Regions from separate parts of the Homo sapiens genome. Here regions 2 and 3 are each linked to region 1. The links are contacts of gene promoters, found by promoter capture Hi-C in blood cells and fetal thymus (Javierre and others, 2016). All regions are on one chromosome and are shown on one strand. The core of a region is centred on a gene start or on the middle of the fragment in contact, and the rest is flanking DNA. Distances in the headings are between cores, read along the strand shown.

What was found. Contacts are between HindIII fragments. The CHiCAGO score rates a contact against its expected background, and 5 or more counts as called.
Region 2: a fragment that was not itself captured here is called in contact with the fragment with the promoter of NEUROG2 in region 1 in 1 of 17 cell types (activated CD4 T cells); the score reaches 5.7 in activated CD4 T cells.
Region 3: a contact is called between a fragment that was not itself captured here and the fragment with the promoter of NEUROG2 in region 1, in 11 of 17 cell types (fetal thymus, megakaryocytes, activated CD4 T cells and 8 more). The highest score is 7.1, in fetal thymus.

What each region holds. Positions count from the first base shown.
Region 1 is chr4:112,514,646-112,517,537 of GRCh38, forward strand. NEUROG2 (neurogenin 2) reads right to left here and starts at 1,535. Exons shown (of 2, transcript NM_024019.4): 1 at 1,202-1,535; 2 at 1-831. The coding sequence starts at 830. The coding sequence ends at 12. It overlaps NEUROG2-AS1 (NEUROG2 and ZGRF1 antisense RNA 1), which reads left to right and starts at 734. Exons shown (of 4, transcript NR_161159.1): 1 at 734-995. It overlaps LOC124900760 (a long non-coding RNA gene), which reads left to right and starts at 2,160. Exons shown (of 2, transcript XR_007058231.1): 1 at 2,160-2,394. RefSeq lists silencers at 167-366, 627-696, 2,017-2,296 and enhancers at 2,306-2,892, 2,437-2,536, 2,637-2,756. The HindIII fragment of the contact is 11,776 bases long and covers 1-2,892 here.
Region 2 is chr4:112,368,523-112,371,644 of GRCh38, forward strand. The region is part of intron 2 of ALPK1 (alpha kinase 1); the gene reads left to right. Among named protein-coding and RNA genes, the nearest start is that of ALPK1, 73 kb to the left of the region's middle. The HindIII fragment of the contact is 2,981 bases long and covers 37-3,017 here.
Region 3 is chr4:112,342,834-112,345,891 of GRCh38, forward strand. The region is part of intron 2 of ALPK1 (alpha kinase 1); the gene reads left to right. Among named protein-coding and RNA genes, the nearest start is that of ALPK1, 47 kb to the left of the region's middle. The HindIII fragment of the contact is 4,801 bases long and covers 1-3,058 here.

The DNA of each region.
Region 1 (2,892 bases), core at 285-2,784:
AAATGGCAGCTCTAGATACAATCCCTGGCTATGGGGAGGTGAGGTGCATAGCGGTGCTTGTCGGGAGGTGGGGGCTGCCAATAGTCCATGTCTGACCCGGCCGGGCTGGCGGGCGATAAAGTGCAGCTGTAGGGGGAGGTGGAATTGGAGGACACGGAGGAGGACGGCGCGGGGCTGTTGGTGCAACTCCACGTGGAGGCGGGCGAGGGGCTGTCTCCGCTGCTGCTCAGGGCGGCGCTGGCTCCTCCCGGGCTCAGCAACACTGCCTCGGAGAAGAGCGCCCCCGGCAGGCCCCCGCCGCCGCCCCCGCAGTGATCCGCCAGGCGCAGGGTCTCGGTGAGTGCCCAGATGTAGTTGTGGGCGAAGCGCAGGGTCTCGATCTTGGTGAGCTTGGCGTCCTCGGGGAACGTGGGGAGCACCTCGCGCAGCGCGTCCAGTGCCGCGTTGAGGTTGTGCATGCGGTTTCGCTCGCGGTTGTTGGCCTTCAGTCTACGGGTCTTCTTGATGCGCTGCACCGTCTCGGCCGTCTTGGCGCCTCGGGAGACGGCCCGCGCCCGGGAAGGGCGCCGTTTGCAATCGTGTACCAGACCCAGCAGCCGTGCGGGCCGGCAGCCCTCCGCACCCGCAGCCACGCCGCCCCGCGCCCCCTGCCCGGCCTCAGCCCCGCGCTGCCGACGCGCCCCGCCTGACGCGCCCGGCTCCTCCTCCTCTTCTTCGTCGGCGCTGGATGACAGCGGGGTCAGGGCCGCCAAGGCGGGGGAGGCCGATCCGAGCAGCACTAACACGTCCTCTTCCTCCTTCAACTCCAAGGTCTCGGATTTGACGAACATCCTACCGAAGAGAGAAAGGGGAAAAAGGCAGTGAGGTGTAAGGAAAGAAACAGAGGCGCGATCTTCGTGTCACAGGGGCGTGCTCCGGCGCGCACCCGAGAAGACCAGCTCCGAATGGCGCGGAGCAGGAAGGCGAAGGAAGAAACCCAGGCAGTGCTAACCAAGGTCAGGAGCGCCGCTAGCGCTCGCTGTGACCCTGCTGCCAGTCAGCCGGGTCCTGCCCTCCGCGGGCGGTCCTGCGTTCCCTCCCCGAGAAGGGACTGCGGCCTCCGCGACAAAGATTCTGCGCGGAGCAGAGGGCGTGCGGGTGTGGTTGGACTGAGTGCGGGGAAACCACCTGCGTAGTTGGAAGCGGTGGCTCGAATACTTACTTAGTTGGCTCTAACTGTGCCTCAGCGTTGCTGTGACTTTGGCCTGTGCCGGGAATCTCCGCGCAGCTGCGAGCGCAGCGCCGGGTCCTTCGCCCGGCGTGAAAGCTGCAAGCCCGGCGCTACTGTGGCGCAGCTCCGCGGGGGACCTCTGCGACCGGCGAGTTTGCCAAGAGCCCCGGCGGCGGCGGCGGCGGCCCGCCCGGGTCTCGTGTGTTGTGGTGGTGGTGCGTGTCTGTCTGTCAGTCAGTCCCTGGCCGTGCGGCTCCTGGCACGCGACTCCCAGGCACTCCAGTTAACGCGAAGCTGCTTGTGGTTCAGTGGCTGCGTGTCTGGCACACGACTCTCCTTAAAACCCCTTATATACCACCAAGAAAACAATCAGATCTGCCCCGGGCCCCCTCCTCCCCCGCCACCGCCTCCTCCTCCTGTCAGTCCTGCCCCCCTTCTCCCCCGCTTTTCCCTCCTCTGGCTTATTCTTTTCATTGCATTATCATCATTCATTTCTTCCTCTTTCTTCACCGCCTTTCCCCCTCCCTTGGCCCTGCCATCCATCCTCCTCCTCCCACCACCCCCGCCTCTCTTTTCCCCCTTTATCTAATCAACATAAAATGGTTCTAAAGCTCCTGTTGGAGCTCCGGGCTGCGGCCGGAGCTGGCGAAGCCGCAGCGGCCGCAGAGGCTCAAGCTGCGGCTGTTGTCGCCGCCGCTGTCCATTGTGATTGGTGGCTCGCGCTCGGCTGGAGCGTGCCGCTAATTTATTAATGAATGGAGGTCGCGAGGCGCAGCTGGCCAATCAGGGCGCCCTGGACTCCGGGAGGCCTGCGAGCCACGCGCACCGGAGCCCGCTCCCTTTCAGCAGCTCATTAGGGGCCCGAGCGCTGGGGGCGGATGGGGGGACCCGTGCTACCGCCCCCGCCTTCGTCCTCGCTGCCGCCGAGGCTCCCCCCGCCCGGCGCGCGCGCAGGCACCGCACCCGGCGCTGCCGGCCCTCCTAACTCCCGGGTGATGGGAACTAGGAATTAGTTAATGGGGGTCAGAATCCCGGGGAAAGCAGTTAGCCCTGTGGTGCTGCCGGGCGTCTCTTGGCAAAGCCTCTTAGGGGTTGTATCAAATAGTAAACGATTTTAAAATGGATTCATTTGGTTAGGGGAGGAGAATGGCGTGGATGGAGAGATGTGGACACCTCGTGAACAAGTGTGTTTGGGGTCCGTCGAAACTGGCGTGGGAGAGTGAAGGGAGAGGACACTGGGGATTCAAACAGGCGTCTCTTGGGAGGGGAGGTCGGATAGGGGAGCAGTTGATGAGCTTTTAGAGGATGTGAGAATGAAATCACTCACATGTTAGAGCTGAAAGGATCCCCCTCATTTTACATACAGGAAACTGAGGCTCCGGGCACTGATGCAGGTTTTGCTGGGGTTAACCCAGTTTATAGCCTGGAGGGACAGCAAGGAGGCTTCCTGCGTGGGTGGCAGCGAACCGAGCGGGAGGAGCGGCAGAGCTGCTGCTCCTGCAAGCAAATGCGCTGCGCTGACATTTCTGTGACCTCTGCTCCGCGCTGGGGGGCGTTGTAGGGACAAGGGGCCCATCTTCCCAATTCTGCTTTTCAATGAGAAAAAAGAGCTGAAGGGCTACTGGACCTCGGGGGAAACTTGTTCTCAATTGCTCGTTAGCCCTCCCCACTTTCCCCACGTT
Region 2 (3,122 bases), core at 277-2,776, 150 kb before region 1:
ATGCGTCTTAGTATTTTATGGGTGGGAATTCTTTGAAGCTTGGATTGAGGTTAATTTTTTAAAGAAAGGATTATATTTAGTCACACCAGTTGACTGGGAACACTACTAACCTAATCATTTTGAATAATTTATTTTAAATTAATCATTAGCTAGAGGTGTTATGGACTTTGTGGCTTCAAATTCTCAAGGGAAAAATTTTTGTTCCCCTCCATCAAGCAGCATGTTTTGCCACAGACAATTTTCCTGGGAGGTGAGGGGAGAGGATGAGGATTTATTTTTTAGCTCACTCTTATACTGAAGGTGCGACCTTTTAGGATCTCAGTTTTATGCATGGGGTGTGCAGTCTCCACTTAAATTCCTACCTCAGTTAAGGCCTTTGGTTTCATTTTCTCCCCTCTCACCTTACAAGACAGTGAAACCAGTTTTAAGTTCACAGTTTGGCAAATACAATCAAGGCAACGGCTAGCTTCTATATTGCAGGTAACTTTTTAGGTTTCAGCCTTTACTTCTTTTTTTGTTTTCTGAGTACTGCTTCCTCTCTTGACATTTTATTGACATATTTTAGAGATTTAAAATGTTTTTGCAGCATTTTTTATTGTTTTCAGTGGGAGTGTTAGATAGTCTTCCTCAATGCTAGAAATAGAAGTCTACTTTTTTATGTTTTTGGTGACTTAGAAGTTGCCTTCTCCCTTTTAATGCAGTTTTAAAATGCTGACAAATGCCTGTTACCCAATAATATCTTTCTGAGCCCCACACTTGCCTTACTCTCCAGTCAGCTGCCTCTTTCTCCATTTGTTTCCCCACTTCTACTGCCAATCAGTGCAAGAGGCAATATGGTGATAGTTTATGTCTATGGGTGCTCAGAGAAGAGTGAAATGGTGGGAACAGCTGGATTGTCATTGCTTGGTGCCTGATTAGAGAAATGTATTCTTGTTGTACATTAGAGACCAGAATACCTTTTCCTATAGAAACAATATGAGAAATGAGTGTAGATTAAAAAGACGTTTTAGATTAGCTGGGCATGGTGGTGCATGCCTGTAATCCCAGCTACTCAGAGGCTGAGGCACAAGAATCGCTTGAACCCAGGAGGCAGAGGGTTGCAGTGAGCCGAGATTGCACCACTCCACTCCAGCCTGGGTGACAGAGTGATACTCGGTCTCAAAAAGAAAAAGAAAAGAAAATTTGTTTTATAATAATTATTCATGTACATATGAATTAAATAGGCTCTGTGGGCTTGCTTATGAATCTAACCAAGGGTTAATTGAATTCCAACATAGATAATTTAAATTGAGCTTGCAGAGTACAATTGTGTATTATATGCCCTGTATATTTATCTAGTTTACCTTTTAGTATATTTGCATCTTATCCTTCTAATTATATTGTAAATTCCTTGACAGTAAAGATCATCGCTCATATTTCTTTACCTTTCTCCACATCTTCTAGCTTGGGGATTCTGACTAGTTGGCTAGTGGGTTATAATAGCAGTGGCAACCAGTAGACAATGGAATATCTCTGGAGTCATTTTATTTTCCTTGACATATTCCCTAATAGGGGTACTAATTGTCCAGTGAAAAAGACTCAAACACAGATGCTAAAAGAAATGGAGCTTTGAATAATCCACTGGTTTGGTTACTTTTTATAATAGCTGATTTGTCAATTATCCCATAACTAAGCCACTCAACTAAATTCTAAGTTACCAATAGAACTGAAGAATTTGTATATCAAAATCACATACAGCATGTATAAACACATGACCCCTTAGCTGTGAGTGTGCACATGTGCCTTAAAGTGTATCACTCTAACTTTTTTGGGTATTTATTCCAGAATTATCTGTTTTTATGGTCTGATTGCTTTTCCTGGACCCTTTCTATTTGATTTTTAAGGAAAAAAAAAATACAGGGGAGGGATGTTAAAAGAGAAAAAGTAATTCATTGATTACCAAACATACTGGGGAATTCCCATTGTTTAAATGTAAAAACAATATACAGCTCACAGAATGCCACAGTTCAGGGGAGGAAAAACTGATATGTGTTGAGATTGAAAATGATTCCTTTATAAATGAAGTTGACCAAAATTTCCAGCAGGACTGTTGCCTGAAGGAAAGTTCCTGGGCTCCAGCCTCTGTTATGCCTAACAATGAGCCATACAAGTCTGGACAGATGGTTGGATTCCAAAGCGTTTCTCATGTTACAGTATTTTCTTCCTATTGTCTCCTCTGAATTCTACAGAGAAAAGGGAAAATGCTGTGACTTTCAAAAAGTATGAAGAATGTCTTCAGTACATTTCTGGGGAATTGCAAGTACTAAACATGAATTACCTTGGAAATCTCTTCTTCTTTTTAGAAATGTTGTCTTGGCTAAAATATGGTTTCTTATTGTGGATGATATGATTTATCTAACTTACTTTTATATGTAGAAATACAGAATAGATGCATTTATGTCTTTTCCTGGAAGATCTCTTCTACGCTTCTTGTCTCAAAACATGGTAACATTGTCCACTCAGTTTTGAGCTATGGTGAAGGAGAAACTGATACTCATTCTTAATAACATTCATATCTATCCAATACCAATATTGCATTTATTCCCCAGACAGCTCTCAATTCTGTCCAGTTTTCTACATCTCTAATACTATCGCTCTGGTCGAAAGTCCTGATACTTTCCACGTGAATTTTTGCAATTATACCTAACTGATCTTCCTGCAGTTACCTCCCGGCAAACCCCCACCCTAACGTACGCACTACAGCTAAAACAGAGTGATTTTTTCCAAATGCACATCTGACCCTGGTCCTCCTGCTACCAGTAGTTTCCTAGCACTCTTAAGGTGAAGATACAATTTTTTACCAGGCACACATAGGCCTGCACAGCCCGTATTTACCTCTCCAGTCCCACCTCATATCAACTTTCTCCTTTTATCGCTAGTTCAGCCAACCTCTCTGTCTTTCATTCCCTCTCTAGTTCCTTCTACATAACAGCCATTCCCCACCATTTTAACTTCATTAAGCCTTATCACTCTTTCAAAGCTTAATTCAGGCATCACATTCTCAAAGAAGCCTCCCTTGATCTGCCCTAGCTTTACTCAAGTGATTAGGTCAAGTCCTGTTGTTTGCCTTCATACAACTGCAT
Region 3 (3,058 bases), core at 325-2,824, 170 kb before region 1:
TATTCCAGTAAATGTTAGAGCTAGAATTCAGACTTGGGTACTTTAGATCCAAAGCCTCTGCTCTTATTGCTGGGGCCCAGAATACATGGGACCTGGAATACCTACATACGCTTCTCCTGATTCCTCCTGGTACAGAACAAGTAAATGTTAGTTCTTCTCTCCCCTTCCATCCCTTCAGCTCCCCAGTCCTGGTCTCCTGCCCTACACAGTCCAAGCAAGTGGGCCAAGAGATTGCAGCAAAGGAGAGGGGCCAGAGAGGAATCTTATCTTCTGTCCTGGCTTCTCCAGTTTTCCTCCTGCCTGCACATTAAACACACAGGGACTGACGTGCTGAGACCTGGTAAATTCAGACAGTGGGGTTCACGGTTCATCGTATCCTTTGAAGGACTCCTCCACCACTTCATTCAAGATATCTGATGTCATTTCTCTTGACTTCGTTTTAACTAGAAAACCTTGATTTTGATTATTTTTTAATTTTTGGTGAAATCAGTAAATGCCATTTTGAAGAAAGAAAGAAGTAGACTATGAAGGAGAGTGTTTTGGGGAAAGATCTCTGTGTCGTCTTAGAGTTCACCTGCTTTGTGACTAGTGAATGCACTACAGAAACTGGCAGACAGCAACACCCTCAGCCTGCCTCGGAAGAGACAAAAGTAAATACCCGTCTCAAAGAGAATGCACTGAAATATGATATCAGCTGCAAGAGAGGGCCATCTCCTCCGGTCAAATGAGAAAAATCATATTATCCTCGCTGTGGTATACAAATAGCTTGTAAGCCACATTCTCCATTTGAATGATAACAATAAAGTGCTAACCTCGCTGCTGCAGGCCAGCCTGATCCCATCTCCAAACACAAACACTTCTGCCTGGGTTTTGGCTGGGGGTTGTGCTGTGGCCTCCCAACCCCCACCCTTTCCCCCCCTTCTCCCCCCTACCCCCGTTAATTGGCTGAGACCACCAGAATTTGGAGGACACAGATGTCACTGATAGTTTTCCTAGGGAGCACATTCATGCCCATCTGTTGCAGCCTAGAAGGCTGTTCATATATCCACAAGGCCTTCATTTAATTCTTGTCAGAAAGTAATGTAAATCCAGTTTACCTCAGAGGTCGCAGGCGAGATTTATGCCAATGAGCCCCCTGCAATTTACACACACTGTAGTTGTATAGGATGAAAAGAAAGCCTTTCATGTTGGTGCATATTAACAAGAAAGCCTGCCTTCCGAGAGAGGCTTTTTGATTGAGGTTTCTCCTGATTTTAATACAGCCGATGCCAGTTGGTATACCCAGCTTTAGAAAAGCGGGGAAAAAATCTAATCTTTAAACTGAAGTTTCTTCTTTTATAAGAAGTAAAAGAGAAAGAGTGAAATCCTAGCAAGTGGCACTGCCATGTCTTTAATTATCTCTTACTAGACAAAACTCCCTCGCACTTGGAGAAGACAGTGTGACAGGAGAGCACGTTCCAGCCTGAACTGCTGCGAGTGGAAGTCTAGGGAGAGCTCAGTTGTAAGCAATGATCTTTCCAATGTGAAAATAGTGGGACTGAACAGTTGAATTAGACTTCTGACTTTTTGTCTGTCTCTTTCTAGTATAGTTAAAGTATGGAGTTTGATAATTTGGATCAGGCTAGGTAGAAATTGATTCATCAGTAAATTGGAAGAAGACATATGTGATATATACATAGAAAATAATTCATAGAATTATCTTATTGGAAGTCTAAGAGCATTAAAAAGGACTTGGGTTACATCTTTCAATGTATTGATACATTTTGAAATATTCAGGACTGTGTAAGTAGGCTGGAAGGCAAATGGTTTTAAAAGCATTCATGGGGTCAAAGACTCCTGGAAATTCTGAATACACACCTTGTTTAGTATGTGACCTTGGGAAAGTTACTTAACCTCCATGACCCTCAACTTTCTCATCTCTAAAGTGGGGATCATAAAGCCAATATCACAAAGTTTTGTGTCTGAGGTGCACAGCATAGCACCTAAAGTACAGAAAGTATTTAACCAATAGCAATTTTCCCTCTCCACCTTGTCTTTTGGTGGTACCTGTGACAGCAAATTACAGATTTAAAATGTTAGTTAATTTGGTTCAAAACCTCTAAGCATTCAACTCACCAGACTACTTTTTCGTATTTAAAAAATGTTTAAAGATCAATGAAGTTGGAGATTTTCTTTCCCACTGTTTAGAATTTTTGTTGTCAGCTGTTTAATTTTTTAATTCTGTAGAAAGTAGAATAATAGAAGTGTGTTGGTTTCGGTAAAAGTAGGCATGGCTGCCATGCTCATTCAGAGTTGTAGCCTCTGATTTCCCAAGACAGTGTTAATAGGGGGCGTGCTTCTCGTGTTTTTATAGACAGTGCTCATTTACCCATACTAATGGCTTTGAAGTATATGGTATGATTATTTTTGCACCACATTTAACTTTTTGTTTGTATTTTGCTTAAGATAATATTAAAGTTCAGCTGTGATTTCTAAGTACATACTAACAGGACAATGAGGCACAGTAACCTAGAAGCATTACATGATGTGGATGTGGGTGGAATGGGGCCCTGATTAAAAATACAATGTGTTGTTGGCAACACAGTAAGCAGATACTCCAAATATGCATAATCTGGACTTAATTACAGAATTGGATAAAGCAGTAGCTTCATTTTGCAGAGTAGTGGTCATATTAGGGAGGCCGAAGCCCAATTTTGTTGGTTATCTAAACCAGGGAAGAGGAGATTTCAAATAATTTCAGAACGGTCTCTTGCTGCCTCTCAAAATTCATCAAGACCATTCCTTTTTGTTGGGGTCCTCAAAAGAGAATTTTTAAATTTTTTATTATTAAAAATTTCGAATATGTTGTTACAAAAGTAGAGGGAGCAATGTAAAAACTTCATGTACTCTTATGTAGCTTCAACATTTAATAGTCCATAGCCAACCTTGACTAATTTACATCTTTAATTTCTCCCCAGCTCCATGCCTCAAATTCTTTTGAAACAAATCTCAGACTCCATATAATTTCATTTCTAAGTATTTCAGAATGTATCCCTAAACGATATGAACTCTTGGAGTT